5 separate regions of the Homo sapiens genome follow, and all the other regions are linked to region 1. Evidence: promoter capture Hi-C in 16 types of primary human blood cells and fetal thymus (Javierre and others, 2016). All regions are on one chromosome and are shown on one strand. Each heading gives the region's core, a stretch centred on a gene start or on the middle of the fragment in contact. The rest is flanking DNA. Distances are from core to core; before and after follow the strand shown. Region 1 holds the start of IBTK (inhibitor of Bruton tyrosine kinase). Region 2 has its middle 17 kb from the start of PRSS35. Region 3 has its middle 3.5 kb from the start of PRSS35. Region 4 has its middle 3.1 kb from the start of ME1. Region 5 overlaps ME1 (malic enzyme 1).

Region 1 (5,477 bases), core at 2,978-5,477:
ATCATACATTTGTCCAGCATTGCCATACTGTACATGCTACCAACTCGATAGTCACTGAGTAGCCCTCTTGGTTAGCAAATTGTAAAAACATAGCATATATAGGGTTCAGTACTCTCTGCAGTTTCAGGCATCCACTGGGGGTTTTAGAATGTGTCCTTGGATAAGTAGGGACTATTTATTGTATGTGGCAAAATAGTTCATCCAGTTAATTTCATTCTTTTAAAGCTCTAAAATCCCACCATGTTTGTATTTTCATTGTATGCATAATACCTGGAAGGAACTACTTACTGGTGAATCACTCAAACCTTACATTAAAGAATTAAGATACAACAGAAAAGAATTCCCTAATTCATTAGTATATATAATGTAAACATTTAAAGGGGGGAAAAAAGAATGTTAAAAAGTCATTCCATACTATCATATAGAGAAAGCGGCACCTACAGAATACTATGAACATAAACATGGAAGCGATTAAGAGCTAGGATTTCTTAGAGTTTTACATACATAGATTCAAATATAGCAATGTCAGCTGTTATCAGTTATATAACTAAAAAATGACATAATCTCTCCAAGTCGTTTCTTCATCTGAAAATAGAAACAATCCATGGACTTCACATGGTTACTATAATGATAAATGAAACTACCTAACATGGTACCTGGCACTAAATATGCATTCGACAAATAATAGTTTTCATTACTATTGTTTCTTCAGTCATAAAAAGGTAATACATTTTAACTCCAAAATTCATGTTTGAGCTTCATTATCACTTGTTACCACTTCTCCAAAGAAATCATTATTGCTAAAGTTACTAATGACTTCCAAATTACCAAACACTTTTAGATATTTTCAATTCTTACTTGCCTTCCCTGCTTTTATGTCTTTAAAACCTCATTCCCTTAAGGAGTCTAAAAGAGATCCAGGAAGGGCAGGAAGTCGCAGAAACATTTAAGCATGGGCTCTCTCTCTTAACCACTTCTTCCTAGGGCATTATCGCTTCCCCTGTCCTTCAAACTGGGCTTCTCTGAAATAATCCTCAGTCCTCTACTTCATATTGTTCCTGATAGTTTCAATCCTTTTCATGCTTTTAACTCTACCGTACACATGATTATAAATCCCCAAATCTGTCTCTTGCTCACATATTTGCCCTAAACTCCAGGCCCATATTTCCAATGCCTATTGTACTTCTTATCTATGCATTCAAAAACTGCTTAAAGAAGGGGAAGAAAGCAAAGGAAATAAGCATTTAAAGACCTAATACATACGGAATGCTTTACATCAGACCAGTCAAGTAAACCACCTAAATCATACCACCAAGAAAAGAGGGAGTCAGACTTCAAATACAGATCTGTTTAATGATGAGGTCCGTGCTATTTCTGCTACGTTACACTGTCTTCTTCAGCGCATCCATAGTAGGTCACAAGGCATTGGGAATACAAAAATAATTAGGACCTAAATATTTTAGATAAAATAAAATACAGGTTCATGGATAATACTCAGGTGGATGCATAGCTAGTTTAACATATGTACTAACTGAACAAAACTTATGATCTATTACACAGTTCCTATTATCAAAGGGTCACAGTTTGGTAGAAGAGAGTAATTTTATTTAGGCAAGTAACTAAAACATATCATAATTATAAACCTATGGTCAAGATAAAACAAGTGACACATAGGAACGGGGAGTGCAGAAGAGGGGTCCAGGTAAGACTTTCTACAGGAGATAAACTATGTATAAACTAAGACTTAAAAGATGAGTACTGGCCAGGCACAGTGGCTCATGCCTGTAGTCCCAACACTTTGTTAGGCTGAGGCAGGCAAATCACTTGAGCCCAGGACTTTGAAATCAGCCTGGGCAACATGGTGAAAGCCATCGCTACAAAAAAAAATACAAAAATTAGGCGTAGTGGCACATCCCTGTAGTCCCAACTACTCTGGAGGCTGAGGTGGGAGGATCACTTAAAACTGGTCAGTCAAGGCTGCAGAGAGCCAAGATCATGCAACTGCACTCCAGCCTGAGCGACTGAGCGAGACTCCTTCTAAAAAAAAAAAGAGTACCATATGTGTTGGCCTGATAAATTCTGGGTGAGAGCACATTTGAAGCAGAAGGGATAGTAAATATAAAAGAACTAGAATCATCTTGGTCCATTCCAAAATTTCTAAATAATTCAGAAGACAGAAAGAAGTGAGGCCTAACATACACACAAGGATAGACAGGATTTTGAACAGCCTTATGTGCCTTTTCTTAGAGATTTAAAAAAAAAAGGGCAGGCAATCCAAAGACATACTTAGGATCTTGAATTGACAAGATGTGGTGGTAATTCCCAGGTTTCTGGCTTGGAGAACAGATAGGGAAACTAGAAAGAAGAGTAAGGGGTCAATACTTTGGAAGTGAGTAAAGCAAAACAAAATTAAACAACGGAAAAAACACACAAAAATTATAGGTGAAATTTTGTTTTATACATTATACACAGTGCTCTACATAAATATAATCCTTATTATTGCCCCTGTAAATATGATCACTTTCATTTTCTGATGAGGAGATTCATGTGAAAGTTTAAAAAGCCTACCTAAAATAATACCGACAGAAAAGTGCTCTTGATCCCACCTATTCTATGCTACCAAACTGCTCTCCCAAAAGGCAGTTAGAAAAATTTCAATGCAAGTAGTATAGTGTAGTAGAAAAAAGTACCATGGAATTCAATTCAAAATAATTGAATTCAAAAGCAGTTTGGTAGGGCAGCTGGAGACTCAAGCGATTCTGCCTCAGCCTCCCGAGTAGCTGGGATTACAGGCACACATCACCATGCCTGGCTGATTTTTTTGTATTTTTGGTAGAGACGGGGTTTCACCAAGTTGGCCTCGAACTCCTGACCTCAAGTGATCCGCCCACCTTGGCCTCCCAGACTGCTGGGATTACAGGCATCTTTTTTTTTTTTTTTTTTTTTGAGATGGTGCCACACTCAGTCGCCCAGGATGGAGTGCAGCGGCGCGATCTCGGCTCACTGCAACCTCCACCTCCCGGGTTCAAGCAATTCTCAGCCTCCCCAGTAGCTGGGATTACAGGCGTGAGCCACCGCGCCCGGCCTAAAAAATTTCTTGAAGTAAACTCTGGTTTGACTAAAGCTTCTGCAAATATTTGCAAATGTAATTATTTTTAGAAACCAGTTTTGTCCTCATCTACCTTGCCTCAATTTCTAAAACAAATAAAAGTTAAGGAATTCAAAATACAAAAAGAGAAATGATCAAGAGGGGGCTGGCAAGCCTGTGAATTTACACCACTTTATGGGCACTGAAACACTACTACTCATAAAAGTCATATCCTTTCAGTATTTCTGATAAATTTCAAATGGCCTACTTCGAGGCATAAGTTAAAAGGTGCTACATGAATCTCTGGCTAACACAGTCAAGTTTTATGAACTACGTTGGAAAACAGGAGTCAAGGACGGCCTATGTTACCTAATTCGCAGCTGAACTAAAACTCTTTGAGCCAGACAGCTCTGCCTGTTACAAAAACAAAGGGCCTGTCTTCTCTGTCTCTCTCAACCCTCCACCCTCCAAAAAGAATCAGTTCCTTTTTACATAGCAATCAATGTCCACTTATCAGATTTCACGACCTGCTTCCCCAGAGTCAGTATCCCCAGGGTGGACTCAAACTTGTGACTCCAGGAAGGGGATAAGGAACATGAGCGCCCACAGGAATGGCTTCAAATCCAAGACTCGAAGGAAAGTGACACTACATAACTATCACAACTAGGAATGCAATGTCGCTGGAGGGCGTGTCCAGCAGGACGGGAGCGTAGCGCATCGCCGGGACAGGCCATTCATTAGCTGAGGGGGGCGGTAGGGACCCTGGCCACTCGGCCCTCTCCGCGCCGCCTCGCGCGAAGCCCGGCAGCCTCGGGGCCACAGAGTCCCCTCCCCACGGTCCCCCCGCGCCGCCGTCCGCAGCCACCCGCACCCTCCAGAAGGCGAATACTCTCCCCCTGCCCCCGGGCTGAAGGGAAGCCGCACCGCACGGTCGGGCAGCGCCAAGCCCTCCCTCACCAGTCGCTAGATGAAACTGCGCCGGTGGATTCCGCAGGGTCCACATAGAGCCACAAAGGGACTCATCCTCAGTGAAGGCAATAAGAGAAACCGAACGGCGCCAGAGGGGCCAGTCCCCAGACCCGGGTCAGTTCGGCAGGCGGCTGCAATACAGCCGCTACTACAGGAATCGGGAACGGGGATGTAGAGGAAGGGCCCGAGCGGGCGGTTCCCAGTAATAAGGCGGGCGCTGGTTGGCTGGGGCTCCTGTATGTCTCTTGATGATTGGCTGGTGCCTGCCCAGAAGGTTTCGCGTGGCAGCACCTCTGCCATGGCCTTTTCCCTGGCGCCCCAAAGGAACTTGACCTCGCCGGCCTTGGGGCCGCTGACTCAGGCCAGGGGCGGGGAAAAGAAAAAGGCCGCAGCGGGGAACTCTAGGCCAACAACGGTGATGGGAGTGTCCCTTTCAGGCCAGCCATCTCGTAGTTAGAAACGTCTCTCTAGGTAGCTGGAGACTCGCGGGGGAGGCTAAACCCGAGTGGAGAAGGAGACCTGGCAGGATGCCTTGGACACCCGGTCGCTACGCAGCAGAAGCCAAGTGCATAGGCGTCCTGCACAGAAGAGTTTCCTCCCATGGCCTTAGCAGTGGGGTTACTGCAAAGCCAAAGGTGTAGTCTCCGTAAACCCAGCCTCACCCCTCTCTGGATCTCCATACACCCGGATTATCTGGCAGTCACTCCCTTGGTCAGAAGGCGTCACTGCCCTCTTAGATCACCACCGTAGGACTAGCTGCCGACCCGGGTCACGCCACTCACTGCCTGACACCAGGCTTACACTAGGCTTTTTCCACTTGAACTCTGAATCTAAAGGCCATTTAGAAAGTGGTCAAGTGAAAAATGCTAGGAGGGACAGTAGCCAATAATCAATACTAGGTTACTGAATGGGAAACACACTGCTGCTGAATGCCTAATACGGTAAGCACTCAGTAAATGATTGTTCAAGGAGGTGTAGTGTGACTCAAAACAAACGACACTAAGAATCATGAGTTGGCTGTACAGCTCTGCCACGTTGAGTTTTACAAGCCACTGAGTCGACCTCATCTAATCTCTAAAAGAAAGGAGTTGCGCATGTCTTAATGCCCACTGAGCTCTGCTTGCTCTCTTTTGAAGCCTTTTTTGTGGGAGGGTAGGTTACTAGCCCAAAGCCACACAGCTGCTTAGCGAAAGAGAAAGGGAGACTAGGACCCAGCCCTCCTACTGCCCTTCCCAGCACATAATTGTTTCTTTGCTCTTTATTCTTAATGTCCTTCTACAAAACAAAAACCAGTTTGTAATGTCAAAATTGAGTGGTTTTGAAAATAAGCTTAAGTTGGCCGGGCGCGGTGGCTCACGCCTGTAATCCCAGCAATGTGGGAGGCCGAGGCGGGCGGATCACGAGGTCAGGAGATCGAGAC
Region 2 (5,477 bases), core at 1,426-3,925, 1.3 Mb after region 1:
AATTCCATAAAAATTAAAACATAAATTAGCTATAACTCTTACTGTATCTGTATATATGCTTTTGTATTTTTTATTTAATTGAAGTAGAGATAGGGTCTTGCTACATTGACCAGGCTGGTCTCAAACTCCTGGCCTCAAATGATCCTCCCGCTTTGGCATTAAAGTGTTGAGATTACAAATTTGAGCCACCATGCCCAGCCATATGTGTTTTGTATACAGGATTTTAGCAAGTATTAACTATCATTTTATTTTTTTTAATGATTTGATTTAATTCCAAGCACATTTCACTAAGTAGTATTTTATTATTGTTTCCAGTGGTATAGGGCTATTGACTCAAACATTTTGCTCAATTTTTTGGGGGGAAAACATCTATGTGATCACAGAAACAAAAATGTTCCAAGGTCAATTTTGCATACTTACACACTTGCAAACACACAGACACTTACACAGAATCTTCGTCTTTGAGTCTTTGAATATAACTCCTAGCATTTGAGTAAGTTTAGAATACCTTTGGGTGCTGAATAAAATAGTTTGGTACTTAAGGTTAAATTCTGAGTATATATTCATTATATATATAATTCTTAAAATCATTGTCCAATATACTTTTCAAAAATATAAAATTGAGCTTGTTTAATTTGCAGAGACTTTTTCTCTTTTTCTTTTTAGAAACAGTCTTGCTCTGTCACCCAGGTTGGAGTGCAGTGGCACAATTACAGCTCACTGTAGCCTTGAACTCCTGAGCTCAATAGATCCTCCCACCTCAACCTTACAAGTAGCTGGGATAACAGGCATGCATGCATTAGCATGCCTGGCTAGAGGTTTTTTGTTTTGTTTTGTTTTGTTTTGTTTTAATTCTGTCATGCACTTTTCTTTTCCAAGTGAATCCTGAATCTTACATGACCTATTTAGGAACGCTAAAATGTATTGCATTAACCAGAAAGTTTTGCTTCATATACTTTTTCTCTTATGTTTATCAGATTTGAAATTGAGAACTAGATTGAACTCACTTAGCTAAACAAACATACTTACATGCATACATGTTTACTGTGTGCAAAGGACTGTACTGACTTATTGTCTGGAATCTTACCAATGGTGGATTTCAAATAACCATTTTCAAAACAACTGAAATTTAAAATTGTGGCATTCCCTCTTTATCTAAATAACATATTTTATTTTATTTTTTTCTTGTTCAAACGAAATGCATGTGGGTAGAAGCAACTTAACAATTTTTTCCTTTTTGATATGCTTCTTAATTAATCCATTGTTTATTTTGAAAAAGATTTAGATAATGTTTGATTGTCTTAGTCCATTTAGGCTGCTATAACAAAATATCTTAGACTGGGAACTCTTAAATGATAGAAATTTATTGTTCACAGTTCTGAAGGCTGGATAGTCCAAGAAGGAGGCATCAGTAGATTTAGTGTCTGATGAAGGTCCATTCCTCATAGATGGCACCTTCTTGTTGTGTCCTCATGTAGTGGATGGGCACCCAAGCTTATGCAAGCCCCTTTTATAAGAGAATTAATCCCAGTTATGAGGCAGGAGCCCTCACAACCTAATCACCTCCCACATGCTCTGCCTCTTAATACTGTCACCTTTGGGGTTAGGTTTCAACATACAAACTTTGGAGGGGTGTGAACATTCAGACAATAGCAATAACCAAGATCAGAGTTCTGGACACATTCTTACCCCTTCTTACTTGTAGATAGAATAATTCTTTTAAATTCTTATTTCATAGAAAGAATCTCAGGATAAGAAGAGACTATAAAAGATCATCAGTTTAACCCTATACTTTAAGTTTTAATCCCCTTCCATCACATTCTCTGCAAATGGTTGTCCAGTGATAAGAAAAATTTTCACCCCTTATTGTTTAGTTATTAAAATAAATTCAGAAATATAACTTACCATAAGTTATTCAGTTTGCTACATAGTGTAAAAATTATATTATGTATGTCTTGCATTTTATTCCAATGTTGACCATTTTAATTACTCATAAGTTTTTGTCCTTGTGTTAGTAACTCAGGTATTTATTCGCATCAAACATAAACTGTGATTATTAATTAAGAATATTGGGATAAGGCAATTTGACCAAGCACTGGATAGTACAAGAATGTGGCTCTATAGCTATAAATAACCTAGAATTAGCATCATTATTCTTTAGGGTGGTTTCCCAATAACAGATACTTTTTTGGCTACTGATTTTTAAAAGTACCTGCCAGGCTTTAAAAGTACTTCAATAAAACTACTTTTACTAAAAATGATCAGCAAAAACATCTTTACTTAATTAACAGAAGAGCCTTTTTAATAAACTGATTTTTGCAACTAGGTCATTGCTCTTTCTTCAATGGCCAAATCATTAGGTTCAGAGATATTTAGGAGATTTGGTCTAATCAGTGATGAAATCATGTCCTCGTCAAATAGCATCGACCTATAGGCAGATTCACAAGTTTTAATTTTTATTAAAATAAAATTTCAATAAAATCTTGCTCTGTTGCCCAGGCTAGAGCACAGTGGAGTGATCGTGGCTCCCTGAAGCCTTCCTCCTGGGCTCAAAAGATCCTCCTGCCTCAGCCTCCCAAGTAGCTGGGACTACAGACATGTGCCATCATGCCAGGCTAATTTTTAAAGTTTTTTTTTGTAGAGATGTGGTCTTACTTTGTTGCCCAAGTTGGTCTCTAACTCCTGGGCTCAAGTGATCCTTCTGCTTCGGTCTCCCAAAGTGCTGGGATGACAGGTGAGAATCACTGTGCCCGCCCACATGTTTTTATTGATTCACTATTCAACTAAGCGGAAAAACCATCCTCAGATGGTTTTCTTTTCTACTTATAAAATCTAGGGAGGGAAATTCCTTGCTTCTTCCTCTCTGTATTTAAAAGCTGATGTTTTGATCCAGTTAGCTAACTGTCTAGAACATGGTGGGCAAAATGACTTCTGATCCCAATATGGGCTAGTTTGCTTACCCACAGGTAAGGTGGTGGTGTTGCCATAACAAAACCCCACACACTGGGTGGCTGAAACAAAAGACATTTAATTCTCACAACGCTGGAGGCTAGGAAGTCCAAAGTCAAGGTAGGTTTCATTTTGAGACCTCTTCTCTTGTCTTGAATTGGCTGCCGTCTCATTGTATGCTCCTGTGACCTCTTCTTTGTGCACAAGCAGGATGACAGAGAAAGGGAGAGCAGACTCTCTCTGTTTTTTCATCTTATAAAGACACTAATCCCATCATGAGGGCCCCATCCTTATTACCTCATTTAACCTCAATTACCTCCCAAAGGCCCCATTTCCAAATACCATCACAACTGGGGGTTAGAGATTCAGCATGTGACATTTTTAGGGGTGGGTGTGGGACACAGACACACAGTTCATAACACGTATGTAAACCTACAAGTTGCACTAAACTTCTAAACCTACAAGTTGCACCTTGGGCCAGACCCAGGGAATTCACAAGCATGTGTCACTAGAGAAACTAGGCAAAGGGGTATGAACGGCAGCTCAGGACAGCCAATCTCTTTTTCCTAACTTTCATCATCATTATTTCAAGTACTCGTACCTGGCACAGAGGCAACGATGGATACATGCTTAAACTTATCACCAAGTATTCATTGAGGCTTACTCTTTCAGGGCATTACTTACTCTATGCTATATGCTGAAGCTCCAAAATGCTATAGGTATTGTCTTAATTGTGTATCATATTAAAAATATAGCGAAATATTTAAATAATGGGAATATTTTCTTGTAATGAGAATTTTAGTATTGGAATACACTATAGCGTGCGACTTAAGGAATTAGATATTTGACACATTCTCTGTTGACTCATGTATGTTTACGATAGAAACTGCCTTCAAACAGACAAGTGCCAAGCTTCTGTAGCTACACCTTATCCTCTCCTCTGCCATGTAAATATTTAATCAGACAACCTCTGCCTCAAAACCTGTCACCAAAATCTTTTTGCCTTAGTAGTATTTAAAAATTTCCAGTAACACCTTAACATCCATTCACTTTTCTCAAGCACAGAGGACAAGTTGCCCACTTACTTAGAATATCTACTTTGATCCACATTGCAATCAATCATAGGATCCATTATTGCCTCCCTGTGTGATTTTACCAACTGGGTTTACAGTTTACCAAACTGAGACTGCATGATCATATTTCACTTTGTATTTGTAAATGTTTACTAATATTCAACTAATATGAACTTGTGTTTATGTTATTGAAATCCTCTGTGCATGCTCATATTATACTTAAGTGTGTGTACACTTTCACACGCAGTATAGATAAGAGGAATACTTTGAACACTGTTCACACAACCGAACACAGATGAGTTTGGAAAGATCCTCTGGGCTTTTGCTCAGCCTAATTAACACTCATTTTCCTTACTTTTCTATATTATATTTTGCATTTAATTTCATTAGTAATTTGTAATATACCACACAATATCTCACTTATCTAGAACTTCCTTTTCTGATGACTTCAAGTATCTAAAATGTAACAAAAAAATTAAGTTAAACAGTGTCTTCTGAATAACCGACATAGATGCCACAAAATTACTTTTACTCTAGAAATAATCTTAACAAGTTGGGTTATCTGATTTCTGGAACTATAATGAGAAGGCTGCTACTGAGGCAAGTCCAACAGTCTCAAGAAGTGATAGCTGACAGAGAAGGAGGATGTAGAAAAAACATTAAACTATAAAAAAACCCAGGTATATAGGTACTATAAAATTTTAGTAGTTTGGAGCTACTGAGTTTGGGCAAGTAGCTTTGTGAGCCGTATTAGCCTGTGAAATCATAGCAATATATGTTATGTTTATAATGATGACTGAGCAATCAATATAAAATCATGATCAGTATGAGTTTTGAAAGGCATTACATGATAGAAAAGTTTTCATGAAAATGGCTTGACATTTTATTAAAGTCTTGTTTAAAATAAGAGAAACATCAGTGGTCAATGGAATTGACTTGTTTTTAGGCTCAAATGAAATTCTAGCCTCAAAAATTGAGGAAAAAATGTTACCGCAATATTTTGGTCATTCTTCAGGGTAAAAATATCTGAGTATTTTGAAGACTAATGTGTGTTATTGAAAGTTTGAAAGTTGTCGAATAGCTGCACCCAATTTATGCATACATACAGTGCTGTGAGATAGGCACAGTAAGTCTGGTATAATGAAAAAAGTTCAGGATGCAAAATAAAATACCTTAGTTGTCTAATCATAGTGGACTGCCCTGTAGAGAGCAAATGTTGACCAAATATAATGTGCTGATCATTGTAATTGGTATTGTTAATTGCAAAAGTTACCTAAGACAATCAATAGTTGCATATAATAAATTAGTTGCATTCTGTTTTACTTTATGTTTGTGAAAGACAAACTGGAATTTCCTAAGAGGAGAGATCAGCAATCATGTGGTCCTGTAGAACTAAGGTGATTGTGTGTGCTGGTGCAAATTTTGTTCTCTGAAACTAGACATCCTCCCTTCCCC
Region 3 (5,477 bases), core at 1,911-4,410, 1.3 Mb after region 1:
CTGACCCTAAACTTAATTTTTAAAAGCCTCTTTAGGTTCACATATTGTAGGAGTTTTATGCCAATTTTATAAACAATCTATAATAAGAAAATAAAATAAGTTGGAGTCCCTCAAGCTCCGTATGACAATCTCATGCGTGTTTTTTATGGTTATATACACATAATGCAATTTGATAAAACGGTCATATACATTCTTTGAAAGCTCAAGATGACTTTTTTTAATACAGATTTTTTGCTTTCTCCTTAGTTCTTTCCTCCTCCGCTTACCCCCACATTCTAAAATACAGTATATTTTCCATACCTTCTCCTTTATTCATATAATCATAATCACACATATGCATTTATGTATACATATCTACATATAGATACATATGTAAGTTCTTTGGTTGTTGCTTTTCTATGAATGGGGCCATCTTATATATGTTCCTCAGTGCATTTCACTTAACTACACTAAGGAAATGCCTACAATGCAGCTGGTTTGGTCCTGATTTATTCTTGATAATAGCAACATAATATCCCAGAGTACGGATATACCATAGTGTATTCAACTATTTTCCTTTTATGAGCATTCACTTTATTTCTTCTTTTCTGCTATTACACAAAAATGATTGCAATAAGTATCCCTGTACATAGCCTTGATTTATTTTGAGCCCTGAAATCCTCCCTTTCCCTCACTCCTTATGTTCAGTCACCAGCTCACTCAATTTGAATCCTGTGACATCTTTGGAATCTGCTCTCTCCCCATCTCCACCTCCATGGCTACTGCCTGGTTTGAAGCTTCATAATATCTAGCTTGAACTACTGTAACAGTGTCTTAGCTGTTCTTTCCACTCTAAGTTTAAAAAATTTCTCTCTCTCTCCCAACAATTCCTTCTGCTTCCAGGATTCCCTTTTTGATATGCAAATGATCCTTATATTTTCTGGTAGCCCCCACACATGTAGTTTGTGCAGTTGGCTAGGAGTAAAAGAAACAATCATGCATTGGAGATGGCAAATGGAAACCAATACTGACAGCATATGGAGGCAACAACGAGTGGTGACACCTGCCGACCTCAAGCGGGCCTGTTCCATCTAAACTGTTAGCTCCTACTTAGCTTCAGCTGACTACTGCCATGAGGGAATGTGGACCAGACTTGCCCGATGGTCTAATTTCTCTCTCTCACACACACAGAAACCTAGAAATCAAATTTTTAATGAAAATCTTCAAATTTTCTGGCCACACCAAAACATCTGCAATCTGAAATGTTTGTCCTTCAGGATAAAATGTGACTCAGCCTGTGAGTTATTCCCATCTCTCATTGTTCTCCACATCTATCATCTCTTCATTGATGATCCTGTCCTGTTTATTCATCCTCTAGGAGGTTACCTAAATGTGATGAAGTGTATTTGATTTAATGGATACTTCGTCTCTGGATCTAGTGAGAGTCTTGGGGCATTATAAGAAAGAGAAGGAGCTGGGCGCAGTGGCTCACACCTGTAATCCCAGCACTTTGGGAGGCCGAGGCAGGCAGATCACTTGAGGTCAGGAGTTCGAGACCAGCCTAGCCAATATGGTGAAACCCCATCTCTACTAAAAATACAAAAATAAGCTGGGCATGGTGGCATACACCTGTAGTCCCAGCTACTCGGGAGGCTGAGGCAGGGCGGGAGAATCGCTTGAGCCTGGGAGGCAGAGGTTGCAGTGAGCCAAGACTACACCACTGCACTCCAGCCTGGGTGATAGAGCAAGATTCCATGTCAAAAAAGAAAAAAAAAAAGGGAAGGGAGAGTATAACAGAGAGAAGCTGACATTAGAGGTACTGTGGTCTCTTGCCTTTCCTCGGAGTCACGTGGAAGCACAAAAACCAGTCATATGTCACGTACTAGACTCTGCTCCTGGGGCCAATTCCTGGCTCTCCTTATTGAGCACTTATGTGCCCGGTCACAGCTAAGGGTGTCCACATACATTCTTACATTTGCCCTTCATAACCACTCTTCCAGACAACTTTTATCATGCTAACTTTTCAAATGAGGGAATAGGGACTCCCAGAGGTTAAGTGGCTTGGCCCAAATCACATGGCTAATAAGCGGCAGTGTTCAGGTTTAAACCTTAGTTTCCTAATCCCAGATATATTTCCATTGAGTACACTGTTCTTATCCATAGTGGGTTCAGTTCCATATTCAGAGGCCATGTAGAAGGAGGAGGAATAGCCTTCATTCTTCTTGACTGGGTATGTGATTAAATAGGTAGTTTGCCCAGGATATTTTGACTTTGATAAAGCTCTTTATTGAAGGCTTATTCATGTCATCTAGTAATTTAATCATCATTTCCAGAGCCAAGAAAACATGTAATAATAAAAAATAAAACAAAAAGCTATCATAAATTTTCAAACTTGGAATATGAATGACTCTGATCCATTAGCCTTAATTTACAGGCCTATGAATTAAACTTTACAAGAGTCTCTCTCCTCTGGCAATGTCTCATGAAATCCTGTCTCTGGGAGACTTTGTGGTTGGGGCCCAGTGCTTTAGTCCTGGCTGCATTTCCCGGAGTTCGTGTCCTCTTCAGATTTTTAATTTATACTTATTTATGATGCTTCTAGGTTAAGTCTCTGGTTTCTGTAAGAACTCTGGTTTCCTCTCATAATTCACTCTATTGTGTCTAAACTACAGATGAGAGTGGTAGAATGTCTTGATTCTGGTCCATTTGATTTTCTCAGTTAACATTTGTTAAACATCTAAGTTGCAGGTACTGTACTTAGTGCTGGATATATAAAAGTTTTGCTGTCCTTGAGGCTGTCCTATTTGGGAGGCAGACATGGAAAAAAATAATTCCGAAACAGTGTGGCAAGTACCCAGGACCAGTGCTGGCGCAAAGGCAGTAGAGAGATCAACACTGCCTATCAGAAAGAACATGACCCAATGGAGGAGGGGCTGCACTGAGGGACCCAACTTTCAGATTTTTGGGGGAACACATCATTGCATTTCCTTGGGCCACCCAGAAAGATAGAGAAAGCCAATGGTTTTGCAGGTTTGTGGAGCACCAGCAACTGTTCCTCAAATTAGCAGATCATAGGTGGCTTCTATCACAGTATATCTACTTTGAGGACAAATGCTACCTTATCTTTTTTTCTTATTACATCTGCTTAATTTTCTCAGTCTGCCTTAACTAAGGGACCCCTAGGTTTTTAAACAGGCACAACCATACAACCTAATAAATAATAAAGAGGGTTTTGATAAAACCTTGGGATTAAAAGTTAACAGGAAGATTACAGCCAAAGCAATTCAGGTCCCTTTACAAGGTTGAGTCATCAGTTAGACCTTCACCATGGACCATGAAACATCTCCTCTTCCTGTCTTTCCACAGCTAAAACTTTCCAAGTACATTTCCATGATAAGTAAGATTTAGTCTTGGATAGAGATTTATTCTATTCTGGTCTCAGCCTCTTGGGAAAGCAAGTCCAGAAAAAAAAGCTAAGTAGTATAGCCTTAATCATAGCCAGGCCTGACAGTGGTCATGGCTTCTCTTCTAGAGAGGCCACTGCACCCCTCGTGACCTGAAATGTGACAGAAGATGTGTTCTGGGCCTCTTGGTTCCATTTCTGGAGAAGCATACAAATGCCTCCATTAAGCTGGGGACCTCACAAAGGACAGATAGTTATCAGTTTTGTTGGTGCATTAACCAAGAATTTGGGTTGTATTAAAAGTAATTTGATAAAGTCTTTGGTCACAATAGTCACAATAATTGAAGATAAAGTCTAGGACCTTGGGGAGACATGGCTGGAAACTTTGTTATGAGTTTATTTTTTTTAACTGATAACATTTCCTATAATGCATTATTTCCTAAAATGGTAAGAGTTATATTATCCAAAGTTTGCATTCCCATGTGGAAAGCTGGTTGAGAAGCATTGGAAAATTATAGGACCATCATTACAAGTCCAGAATGAGGAATTTGATGGGTTGACAATCTAGTTTGGTATGGTTTCTGAACTGCTCATACTTTGCTATAGAATACCTGAGGGGCTGGACTAGGCCAGGAGAGGAAATCCTGCTTAAGAGAAGCCAGAATTCTGGCCAGTCACGGCGGCTCACTTCTGTAATCACAGCACTTTGAGAGGCTGAGGCAGGAGGATCACTTGAGGCCAGGACATCAAGACCAGCCTAGGCACCATAGCAAGACCCTGCTTCCACAAAAGAAATTATTTAAAAAGCTGGGTGAGATGGCATGTGCCTGTGTACCTGGGAGGTGGAGGTGGGAGGATTGCTTGAGCCCAGAATTTGAAGCTGCAGTCAGCTATGATCCTGCCACTGCACTCCAGCCTGGGTGACAGAGTGATAATTTAAAAACCCTGTCTCTAAAAATTTAATGAATTAAAATTTTTTAAAAATAAGAAGCCAGAAACCTAGAACTAGAGAAATAGTAAATACGAAGCATCAGGACCAGATGAAGTAAAGCGATAAATTTTGAAAACAGTCAAATTAATGATAAGACAACCTGGAATAGATCCAGAAATAGGGTACAAAAGGGCTTGGGGTCAAAGGCTCAAGAAGGGGGGCATGAAAATGAAAGAGCCCTGGAAGTTTGCTTTCTGTGATGCTAGTGGAGAATGCTGAATAAAGTGAAGGAAGCAGACCTGGGTCCACAGTGAATCCTTCTGGATTTATACAGTGTTAGAATCCCAAAAATGTTTGAGAGCTGCAGGCCTTGGAACTCCTCCAGCTCAACCATCTCAATTTACAGATGAAAAAGCGGAGGCCCAGGGCACACAGCTATTTAGTGTCAGGCGGAATTCCCATTCTGAGTTCTGGACTTTCTCTGTGACTTCTCCACACTCCATCTGACTAGCAAACTTTTTAGTTCCACGTCTAATGCAGCAGCTACTATATGCCAGGCCCTGTGGTAGATGGTGGTGATTCAAAGATGCATATGACTATTATGATCTAATTGGTGACAGAGAGCTTCAGAACTAATTCTAACTGGTAAAAATTACCAATAGATTTTAATATATGGGTAAATGCTTATGTTAACAATGCTAAATGAGAAAACAGCAATGAAATTGTATATATAGTTGGCCCTTGGACACATATTTGAACTGCACAGGTCCACTTATACACAGATTTTTTTTTTCACCCAAAAGCGGATAGAAAACAGTATTTTCAGGCAGAAATGCTTAAACAGAGGGCAGACTTTTCCTATACGCGGGTTCCCCAGGGCCCACAGCTGGACTTGGACTTGAATATGGGATGATTTTAGTATGGGGGGGCGGAGGGGAAGAGGGCCTGGAACTAGTCCGTTGAGTATAACGAGGGACAATGCTAAGTATGTTATAATCTCATTAAAAGTACACAGAACTTGAGATACGCAATAACCTACTAACGAACCAAGTGTTACAAGACATGCTAAGACCTTGTGTTGTAAGTACTTGTGCACTTACTCGATCTCCCTGCTTTAGGGCCAGGACCGAGTTTTTTTGTTTTTGTTTTTGTTTTTGTTTATGT
Region 4 (5,477 bases), core at 1,354-3,853, 1.2 Mb after region 1:
AGCGTCAGGCCAGGATCCCCCTGCCCGGGAAGGCTGGAGAAAGTGCGAGAAGATGCCAGAAGGTGCGAACCTGAGCGGTTCAGGCAGAGCCGGCGGTCGCTCAGACACCTAGGGGGATTACAGGACGGAAGGACTCGTGAGGGGTCCCCAGAACTGTTGACAGAACACCTCGACAGGCTGAGGAGAATCAGACTCGTCTCTCCTGTCTTGTTAGCGTCTTGGAAGCCCTCTTTCTACAGATCCACAACCTTCGCCGTGCCATCCAGGATGCCGGCCATGCCCGGGGCCCTGAGGCCGGAGGGAACCAACCTTGACCCAGAATGCCGAGGCCCAAGGGAACTGGGAGGAAGCCCAGAGAGGAGAGCTCAGGCGCCACACCTGTCAGTTTCTACAGATTTTCCACCGGAATTGTATTTGAATGTCAATAAGATAAGAGTCAAGGTGTTAGGGTGCAAAGGCCCAATGAACAGTCCTGTTTATCTTGTATATTATTTCTCTGGGAGTTCTAGAAACCTGATGTTCAAGAACCACTGCTCTCTCTGAATAATGATGAGTAAGCAGTCTTTCAGGCCTTCCTCCCAACCTCAGGTGATCCGCCCGCCTCCGCCTTCCAAAGTGCTGGGATTATAGGTGTGAGCCACCGCGCCGGGCCATTTTTTTATTGTTTTATTGATATTTATGCTTGGAGGTTCATGGACTGGAGGAATAGTCAGATCATAGCCAAAAGGAGTGCCTGTCTGATAAAAATAAATTAATAGCAACAGACACTAAAGCCTTCTGTGCCCCAGTTTCCTTTTCAGTTAAATAGGATTGCTAGTTTCTGTCCCATTTGTCTCTGCATACTGATATTACAAAGGATAGTGTTTGAGATTATTTGCTGATTTTATATCTCCATATACTAGACACACATCCAATCACAGTGTTTTCATTTCTAGTTATGTTAACTTTGCCTTATCAGAAAGATTTCTTACAGTAATTGTATTTTGTCCGTATTTACATTTAGAAGCTTCTTTGACCTCGCCTGAATTATCTAGAATTCGTTGTTTTTATAGAGAATATTTTCTAGGCATCACAAAGTTCTTTTTGAAAAAAATCCTTGAAGTTAAATGACACCTTTCATTGTTAATTCTATACTCCATAAATACTCAATCCTACAACATCTAAGAAAAAGGTGTACTTTACACAACTCACTCTCCTGAATTAACTGAGACACATTACAGTTAGGGTGTTTTATGTGAGAGGAAACAGTTTAACAGCTGGCATGGGAGCCAATTCAAGCTGCTTAAGAAGAAACAAAAATGTTAGTACAACAGACCCTTATTATAATAAAGTACTTATTACATGAATTTAGATATACTACCTACCTGTTCCTGTTTCTGAGATTTAATATCTACAGATAGGAAAAGTGTTATAAGTACAGGGAGTAACCCACAAAGAGTATATGGCCTCTCCCTCAAAGGCAACATTACAAGGGGATTACAATATCCTGCCAGTAGTAGGTAAAGTTCACATCTTTCATCTGTATGTTTATTTTAATTATTAAAATAACCGCCGTCATCTTGAATGAAACAGGATAAGGCCTAGCTGAAGAAGCCATTTAGTACATTCATATGTAGTTCCAAGAATACTAGAAAGAACCTATTTTTCTACATAAATGTTAGCTAGAATATCAAAATTTTCAGTCTTTTTTAAATAATAATCTCATAAGGTTAGGTTTTATTTCCAAAAACGTAGGAAAACAGATGCAGAGAAAAAAACTGCTTTAATTTGCCTTGTAACAAACTGTGGTTGCACTGTCACTCTGAAAGCAATTGGTAATGTTAAGAATGGGTATCATTCACAAATTAAGAGACTAAAACATAGATTTCTGTTATACACAGGTGAGAATGCCATCAGTCAAAATCAGATTTTTCTTTCCCAAGTTATAGTTTAGCACACAAAGAGCTTTTACAACATAAAATATGATTGTAATAGATACTCTGATGTAATGTCAGTTGAGATTGCAAGTATAGAAAATTCAGGAAATAACTCTTAGTACATACAGCAATTCTAATATTTTACTTTCATGAGATAAAAAAGATTAATAGAAAAAATACATATCTAGGTGAGGATTTATAATATTAACTAAATGATTCTGTATTTCTTCACACAAAAAGCACACTACTACTATGTCTTCAAAATCTAGTGTGCATTTTATAACACATCTCAATTTAGACACCAAATTTTTATCAGAAATTTGATCTGTATTTCAATTTTATAAAACTTACATTTGCAATAGTAGACTCTCATACCTAACTTGTTGCAAATATACCTTAAAGTTTTCCAATGACTAAATTGAGTATCTGTTTTATATTTAAATTAAAATCAAATACAATTTAAACTGAGTATCTCATTTGCACTGGCCACATTTCAAATGCTTAGTAACATGCCAGTGACCATCGAATTAGAGAGCACAAGTCTAATCCAATGCATTTGGGCCCTTAATTAAATGTTTTAAATAAATAAAGATCAAATATACATACCTGTGTTATTGTAATGTTCATACAGATGTTGTTACATGAATCGCAGAGTAACTCAAGTTATACTACCTTATTAGTTTCACATATATAGCTATTTATAACCGTAAATGCATGCAACATACTGATTTTCTTTACAAAGCACTGATTCTTTTCCTTCTTCTCAGATAGTCAACCCAGTTGTTTCATTCCTCAAACCATTTTGTTAAAAGTTCACATCCCAGTTGATAACATGGCATATGGAATAAAATTCTAAATTAGTAAAACTGCATTTAAATAAACCTTCTGAAATTCAGATGTCCACATAACTATTGTACTTCAAGACAGCAAACTGCTGGAGAAATTTTGCACATACTCTCAACATTGCTGCCATTATTTTCCCCCCAACAGAGTCTCACGCTGTTGCCCAGGCTGGAGTGCAGTGGCGTAATCTTGGCTCACTGCGACCTCCGCCTCCTAGGTTCAAGTGATTCCCCTGCCTCAGCCTCCCTAGTAGCTGGGGTTACAGGAATGCACCACACATCTGGCTAATTTTTGTATTTTTAGTAGAGACAGGGTTTCACCATGTTGGCAAGGCTGATCTCAAATTTCTGACCTCAAGTGATCTGCCCGCCTCAGCCTCCCAAAGTGCTGGGATTACAGGCGTGAGCCACAGCATCTGGCCAGCTGCCATTATTTGAAATGTTTCTCAGTTCCTCTTTTGGAATTATTTCTTATTTACTCTGGGTAAACACTATACCACATTCTTTTAAGAGCATTTTATTAGTTTCAGGCCAGGCATTGTGGCTCACACCTGTAATCTCAGCATTCGGGGAGGTCAAGGCAGGAGGATCACTTGAAGCCAGGAGTTCAAGACCAGCCTGGGCAACAAAGTGAGACCCTGTCTCTACAAAAAACTTGAAAAAAAAAAAAATTATCCCGGTGCGGTGGCATGCACCTATAGTCCCAGCTATTCAGGAGGCTGAAGCAGAAGAATTGCTTGAGCCCAGGAGGTCAAGCCTACAGTGAGCCACGATTGTGCCACTGTACTCCAGCCTAAGCAACAGAGCAAGGCTCTGTCTCAAAAAAAAAAAAAAAAGATTATATTAGTTTTACGTCCACAGGTACCAGGGATTAGAACTTCAAAATATCTTTTCAGGGGACACAGTTCAATCCATAACAAGAATGAAGTCTAGAATCAGACTGACTGGGTTTGAATCTTTCCAGCCCTGTGTCTTTGAAAATCTTATTACCTCGGGGCCTCAGCTTCCTCATCAGAAAAATGAGGATATTAAAAGTACCTGCCTTTTAAAGTTGTTATGGGGATTAAAAGAGGTGATTTTTGTGTATTTATTCAATAAATATTTACAGATTAACCTACTATGTGTCAGCCCCTGATATACGCCCTGGAAGATTTATAGTGAATAATACAAATTCTCTGTCATCTAGAAATTACATCCTACTGAGATAATAAACAAGCTATACTATGTCATATCATATAATACAGATAGACATGTAAAGCACTTAGAACAGTGCCTGTCCCATAGTAAGCATTCAACAAATGTTATTCCTTTCCTTCCAGATCTGGTTCATCTTATGAAGCCATTCCCCATTCCCTCACATTATTTCCCCCTTAATTTATTCAAAATGTTTCTTGAACACTTCCTCTATGCCAAGCCTTAGACTAGGCACTGGTATGCAAACATAAGCTTATGGGGAGAAACAGCCAATACACAAGTAAAGAAGTAGGTAATTATGAAATCCGAACTGTAAAAGAAATGAGTGTGCACTTCAGCAATTAGCAACATGAAGACTGATATTTTTGAATATTCATAATGTTTTAAATTGTATTTTTATTGGTATTTGGGATGTCTTGTGTTTAAGTACTTGAAAATCTCTCTGAATGGTAGAAGTATTCTTTCAAATGTAAATAAAAGATAGCTTCAGTAACACTTCGCTTCTATGTTCATAATAAATTTGCCCCCACTGGGGATATTCCCAGAAATACTTCAATTTTGAAGGGGGAAAATACTCATTTAGACAGATAATAGCTGGTGTACTTGTCAACAAGGCATTAAAGTTAGTAATCTAGAATATAGACTTTGGACTAAGAGTTCCTGGGCTCCTGTTCCAATTTTGCCAACTTTGTCAAGTTACTTACCTCCCTTTGTCTCCTCCAATGATTTATCCTCATCATAGTAAGCCCTACATGGGTATTTGTCAAATGAAAACAAAGACAAAAATAAATCAGGTGCATTTCTCTGTATACTTACTTACATCTTTTAAAAAGAAAACGCTATCAATCACTAAAAGAAATTCAAATATTGACCAGGCACGGTGGCTCATGCCTGTAATCCCAGCACTTTGGGAGGCCGAGGTGGCAGATCACCTCATGTCAGGAGTTCAAGACCAGCCTGATCAACATGGAGAAACCCTGTTTCTACTAAAAATACAAAAATTAGCTGGGCATGATGGCACTCTCCTGTAATCACAGCTACTCGGGAAGCTGAGGCAGGAGAATCGCTGAACCTGGTAGGCGGAGATTGCAGTGAGCCAGGATTGCACCGCTGCACTCCAGCCTAGGCAACAGAGCAAGACACCATCTCAAAAAAAAAGAAAAAAAAGAAAAAAGAAAATAAAGAAAGAAATTAAAATATTCTAAGAATATAAATTTTACTTACAATTTTAGCAATTACAGGTTTTGGCTTTAGAAAGTAGAATTAAGTGACTAGACAAGGTTAAGTATTAATCTTGTAGAATTAATTAATATTGTATTGGATTTTTCTGTTTGTGTTTTTTACTCTCATATAACAAAGTAAAAATTTTCTGAAACTGCTTGTTTCTAATTTTCATGTTTTCCCAGCTATCACCACAGTATACCTTCTACAAAACATCATTTCTCTATCTAGGTCAGGGGTCAGCTATCTATGTATGTCATGCTAAAGCTTGCCACTAGTGCCTGTGCCAGTCCAAACCTGTTCT
Region 5 (5,477 bases), core at 1,100-3,599, 1.2 Mb after region 1:
TAAGATCTTCAATTGAAACGTGTATGAATAATCCAAATAAACCACTGGTTGCCAATAGACTTCCTAGTTATCATACGTACCTTTATACTATTTTTTAAAATCTTATATATGTGACAAAATCCTCTATGCCTATGATAGTGTGTATAGTGATTACTCATATAATGAACCAGAAAGATCAGAATTATAAAATAATCCTCTATTGTGTCTTGATTTCTTAACTCTTCAAGCTAATAGAAGAATCTGCAGACTATGAACATTAGACAGCAATTCCAACACATTTAATTACCAATTAATTTACACACGAAGTTGCAAATGTCTGTTTCTTCCTGTGTCCTTTGCCTATTCCTGAATAATGATCTCCTTCAAGGGATAATTCTATCATAGAATGTCCCATAGTTCATTGTTTCTGCTTACCTGCCATTTTACCCAGGTCTGGAAGACAGGCACTATACTATTCATATTTGTATGACAGCACCTAGTACAATGTCGGGATGGAGCAGGGCCTTAATAAATTTTAAATAAGCAAATGGATGTATAAATACATTAATGTGAAACAAATTTTCAGTACTCTGTAGTTCGGTTCTGTGTAGTTCTATTTTGAATAACCAAATCACCGAATTCAAATTTCAAACAAAGATTTATTTATGCAATAGTACAAAGAGTGCTCATGATTTAAAAATCTCCCAAATAATAATTAAGCTTTCCACATATACCTTAGGAAATCATTTAATTAAACTAATCCACTATTAACAAGTTTTTTCATTGACTTTAAACCAGGCATTCAAGATCAACTTTGGTTTGACCAAAATATATATCTACATATCAGCATAAGTGCCAGAGTTTATGGGGATTTTTTAAAGTACTTTCATCTTGACCAGGTTTCTCAATCTTGGTACTAGTGACATTTTAGGACAGACAATTATTTGTTGTAGGCAGCTATTCAGTACATTTTTGGTATTTAATAGATTGTAATAAGCCATACACTAGAAATTTAGATGCACACTTCACCAACAAATATGACTGAATAGCAACATAAGACTAAAGGGTATACCATTTGTCAAGTTTGAGTCACAAGTAGATATTATTTAACACTTGATTTTGAGCAAATATTTAAGGTGTTAAGGGTTAAATGGAGATTTGCCTCAATTATTGCATCTGCTAAATAAGACTAATCAACTATTTACTGAACACATAGTACATGTTATGTGTGTTTCACTGGGTTGTTGGGAAGAAAAAAATGAGACCAGGTGTTTTTGCATCCTACGTAAATTATAAAGTGTTATATAAATGCTTATGGTACAAAGTTTTAAAATAAAGTCACTAATATGCACATGCTACATGAATATTGACTTTTATTCTTCACATTTCAGTATTGTCTGAAAGCCTCTGAGTTTAAGAATCAGTTTTCAGAGACCAAGGTCAGTGCTTCTGGTGAAGAACCAATTTAGCCCCCTATCAGAGGCTTTTAACTTAAAATTCACAGACCTAATCACAGATCCTCAAGGTATGGATGAGTAATTAAGGAGGCCTGAACTTGGACATCTTTTTCACAAACTCTATGAGATTTAGTATTTCCTTCCATTTTAAATGAAATAAACAAGAGACATAATAGTAGTTCCTGGCCAGGCACAGTGACTCACGCCTCTAATCCCAGCAGTTTGGGAGGCCAAGGCAGGAGGATCGCTTGAGCTCAGGAGTGCGAGACCAGCCTGGGCAACATAGTGAGATCCCCATCTCTACAAAAAAAAAGTAGAAAAAAATTAGCTGGGTGTGGTGGCATGCACCTGTAGTCCCAGCTACTTGGGAGGCAGAGGTGGTAGGATGTCTTTGGCCCGGGAAGTCAAAGCTGCAGTGAGTCAAGATCATGCCACTGCACTCCAGGCTGGGTGACAGAGTGAGATTTGTCTAAAAAAAAAAAAAAAAAAGTAGTTTCTGTGTCTTTGTCATAATAGAAATAACAATTATTTTTATGCCATGTTACATCTGTGGCATGTATCTGGAAATAACATTCATGTTCTTCATTACTTTGAAATTACTGTAGCTTTAGATCTGCAATAAGGTTTTGTTTTGCTTTGTTTTGCTTTGTTTAGAGACAGTCTGTTGCCCAGGATAGAGTGCGGTAGTATAATCATAGCTCACTGCAGCCTCGAATTCCTGGGCTCAAGCAATCCTCTTGCCTTAGCTTCTTGAGTAGCTGGAACTATACGCATACACCACCACATCTGGAAAAAAAATTTTTTTTTGAGACAGGGTCTCACTATGTTGCCCTGATTGATCTCAAATTCCTGTCCTTTGTCCTCAAGCAGTCTTCCTCCCTTGGCCTCCCAAAGTGCTGGGATTACAGGAGCCACTGTGCCTAACTAACATGTTTTTTTTGTTGTTTTTTGTTGTTGTTGTTGTTGTTGTTGTTTTGAGACGGAGTCTCACTTTGTCGCCCAGGCTAGAGTGAAGTGGCGTGATCTCGGATCATTGCAACCTCCGCCACCCAGGTTCAAGCCATTCTCCTGCCTCAGCCTCCTAAGCAGGTGGGACTACAGGCGCGTGCCACCATGCACAGCTAATTTTTGTATTTTTAGTAGAGACGGGGTTTCACCATGTTGGCCAGGATGGTCTCGATCTCTTGACCTTGTGATCCACCCGCCTTGGCCTCCCAAAGTACTGGGATTACAGGCATGAGCTACAACGCCAGGCCCAACTTTTTTTAATAACATGAACAGGCACACAGGCCAGTCATGCAGACAACCTTGATATTGATCTCTTTAAAAAATAAAACTTTACTTTAAATTGCCCATATTTAAATATATTATCTTGCTATATGAGTCTTCAATAAAGAGGAATATATCTTACAATACACACTTGTAAATATATTTGTTAATATTTTGATACCTATATTTAATTACAAGTGGTTTCCTTTGTAATATTATGTATACTGTTTATTTAAAATCATTGATTTAAGGAGACCACAGACTTCATCAACTTTCCAACTTTTGTGCCTTTGGCACAAAATATGTTGAAAACTGTTGCAGAGGACTGTTTCAGTTTCTTAAGGGATATATACCTCAGACATGATATTCCCAGAAACACCACAAGATGGCTTTCTTGCTTCAGATCCACTGTGGAGATTTGCAGAAATGTTTTCTCTCTGCTTTTACAGTTACTTTATGGGCGGTTGTGAAGCTCGCTGTATTGGTCAGTTTTCCTAAGAAACTGAACCTTTATATATATGAAGAGATTTATTATGAGAGAAATAGTATAATTGGCTCACATGATTATGGAGGCTGACAAGTCCAAAGACCTGCTGCCAGCAAGCTAGAGACCCAAGAGAGCCAATGGTAATGGTGTAGATCCAGTCTGAAAGCCAGGAGGTTCAAGACCCAGGAAGAGCCCACATTTTAGTTTGAGTCCAAGGGCAGGAAAAATTTGATGTCCCAGCTTCAGGACAGTCAGGCAGGAGAAGTTCCCTCTTACTCAGCTTTTTCGTCCTTTAACTGATTGGATGAGGCCCACCCACATTAGGGAGGGCAATCTGCTTTACTCAGTTCAAATGTTCATCTTATCCAGAAACACTCTCACTGACACTACAAGAGTTACAAGAGTAATGTTTGAACAAATGTCTGTGCACCCTGTGGCTTAAGCAAGTTGACAGATAAAATTAATCATCACACTCACAGATATCATTGAGTGAATGCTTACAATGCATACAGGAACTACCCCAACGAAACAGTGGCTTGTCAGGTATGATCCATAGTCTCATTAGGCTTACAATATAAAGAGCTTAACAGGATATTATATGAAAAGCTACACAAATAACTATAACAATTGTGATAAGTACAGGGAAAAGAAAAGGAAGAACTTAATTTAGACAGTTAGAGAAATAGTTCACTGAGGAGTAATGTCAAAATGCAATCTGAAGGATGACTAGAAAGAGTAGCAGTTGACCAGGTGAAAAGTTGGGGGTAGGTAGAGAAGAAACAGCATGTATATAACCCCTAATGCAGAAAAGCTTGGCTTCTCAGGGAAAGCGTAGGGAAGGAAACTGCACCAACTGTGAGAAATGATAAAAGATGAGCACTAGAAAGAAAGGTACGAACCTGAGTGGGCAAGTCCTAGTTAACCAGGTAAGAAGTTTCAAACATTATCCTAAGTATGGGAAGCCCCAGTACCTTTCCTGACTAGTTATTCCATTTCATAAAAATGTTGTGAGTTTAGCAATAGCCAACCCGCATGTTTATCACTCACCGTATTAAGGAATCCACATACTAAGGCTAGCTCAGATTTTAAAAAAACAAAAGGTGGTGGGTAGAACAATGCTTCAGAACTAGTTTCAGACTACCAGGCAAATCATAGATGGCTCAACCTGATATCATGATTCTTAATCTGTTTTCGGTGTCTCTATAAAATTCACATACATACTCCCACCTGAAACATTTTTCTTTATAACATTATCTCCTATCTACCACACTAAGGGCATATCTGATTCATGTCCTGTATCAATAACATTTTAACTTATGAAAATTAACTTTAAAAAATACTTCATACAATATCTCTAGTATATAATGAAAACACTGGTCACTGGCAACAGTGGTTGCCTTTAGGGAGGGGAACCAGCTAGCCCAGACACAGAAGTGGCAGACATACTTTTCACATTATTATATCTTATTTTTATAAAGCGAATCTATAAGACTATTTTTAAAATATTAAGAACCATTCACCTCAATTTTCAAGAATATTACATTCATATTTAATATTTTCATTTATTAAATCTCATTCCTTTTGCTTCTGGCAGCTCTGGCTATGGTAGAGACTGCTAATTGCCTACGACAACATCTATTTCCCTCTTCCTTTCCAGGAACAGAATCCTAATATTATTTGGGGTGGCAATGCATTAAATAAAAGACATTTCCTGACTCCCCTGTAGTTATATGTGACCATATGACAGAGTACTGAACAATGAGTCCTAAGTGGAAGTATCATGTGAAATGTGGGGAAGGCTACTTTAAAAGAGGGGACTTCACTGAAAAGCAGGCCTTCTTGTAATTCTCTCATTTCTTCCAGCAGCCATCTTGGAATGTGTAGGTGGTATCTTTTTTTTTTCTTTTGAGACGGAGCCTTGCACTGTCACCGAGGCTGGAGTGCAGTGGTGCGATCTTGGTTCACTGCAACCTTCACCTCCTGGGTTCAAGTGATTCTCCTGTCTCAGCCTCCCAAGTAGCTGGGACTACAGGCGCCCACCGCCATGCCCAGCTAATTTTTATATTTTTAGTAGAGATGGAATTTCACCATGTTGGCCAGGCTGGCCTCGAACTCCTGACCTGAAGTGATCCGCCTGCCTCAGCCTCCCAAAGTGCTTGGATTACAGGCATAAGCCACTGCGCCCAGTCTGTAGGTGGTATCTTTAGACCTACATACTCAGTTAGGACCATGAAGTGATCCTGAAGATGACAGAGCAGCAAAAGAGAAGCCTACGTTCCTGATGA

Evidence for each region. Contacts are between HindIII fragments. The CHiCAGO score rates a contact against its expected background, and 5 or more counts as called.
Region 2: a fragment that was not itself captured here is called in contact with the fragment with the promoter of IBTK in region 1 in 1 of 17 cell types (M0 macrophages); the score reaches 5.6 in M0 macrophages.
Region 3: a contact is called between a fragment that was not itself captured here and the fragment with the promoter of IBTK in region 1, in 7 of 17 cell types (M1 macrophages, M0 macrophages, M2 macrophages and 4 more). The highest score is 13.9, in M1 macrophages.
Region 4: a fragment that was not itself captured here is called in contact with the fragment with the promoter of IBTK in region 1 in 4 of 17 cell types (M2 macrophages, M1 macrophages, M0 macrophages and 1 more); the score reaches 13.6 in M2 macrophages.
Region 5: a contact is called between a fragment that was not itself captured here and the fragment with the promoter of IBTK in region 1, in 2 of 17 cell types (M0 macrophages and M2 macrophages). The highest score is 7.4, in M0 macrophages.

Annotation. Positions count from the first base shown.
Region 1 is chr6:82,243,517-82,248,993 of GRCh38, forward strand. IBTK (inhibitor of Bruton tyrosine kinase) reads right to left here and starts at 4,228. Exons shown (of 29, transcript NM_015525.4): 1 at 4,046-4,228. RefSeq lists a silencer at 3,861-4,030. The HindIII fragment of the contact is 2,262 bases long and covers 3,123-5,384 here.
Region 2 is chr6:83,526,509-83,531,985 of GRCh38, forward strand. No RefSeq gene overlaps it. Among named protein-coding and RNA genes, the nearest start is that of PRSS35, 17 kb to the left of the region's middle. The HindIII fragment of the contact is 2,367 bases long and covers 1,493-3,859 here.
Region 3 is chr6:83,506,280-83,511,756 of GRCh38, forward strand. No RefSeq gene overlaps it. Among named protein-coding and RNA genes, the nearest start is that of PRSS35, 3.5 kb to the right of the region's middle. The HindIII fragment of the contact is 4,773 bases long and covers 775-5,477 here.
Region 4 is chr6:83,431,425-83,436,901 of GRCh38, forward strand. No RefSeq gene overlaps it. Among named protein-coding and RNA genes, the nearest start is that of ME1, 3.1 kb to the left of the region's middle. RefSeq lists an enhancer at 1-1,042. The HindIII fragment of the contact is 3,198 bases long and covers 1,005-4,202 here.
Region 5 is chr6:83,414,987-83,420,463 of GRCh38, forward strand. All of the region lies in intron 1 of ME1 (malic enzyme 1), which reads right to left. Among named protein-coding and RNA genes, the nearest start is that of ME1, 13 kb to the right of the region's middle. The HindIII fragment of the contact is 3,304 bases long and covers 698-4,001 here.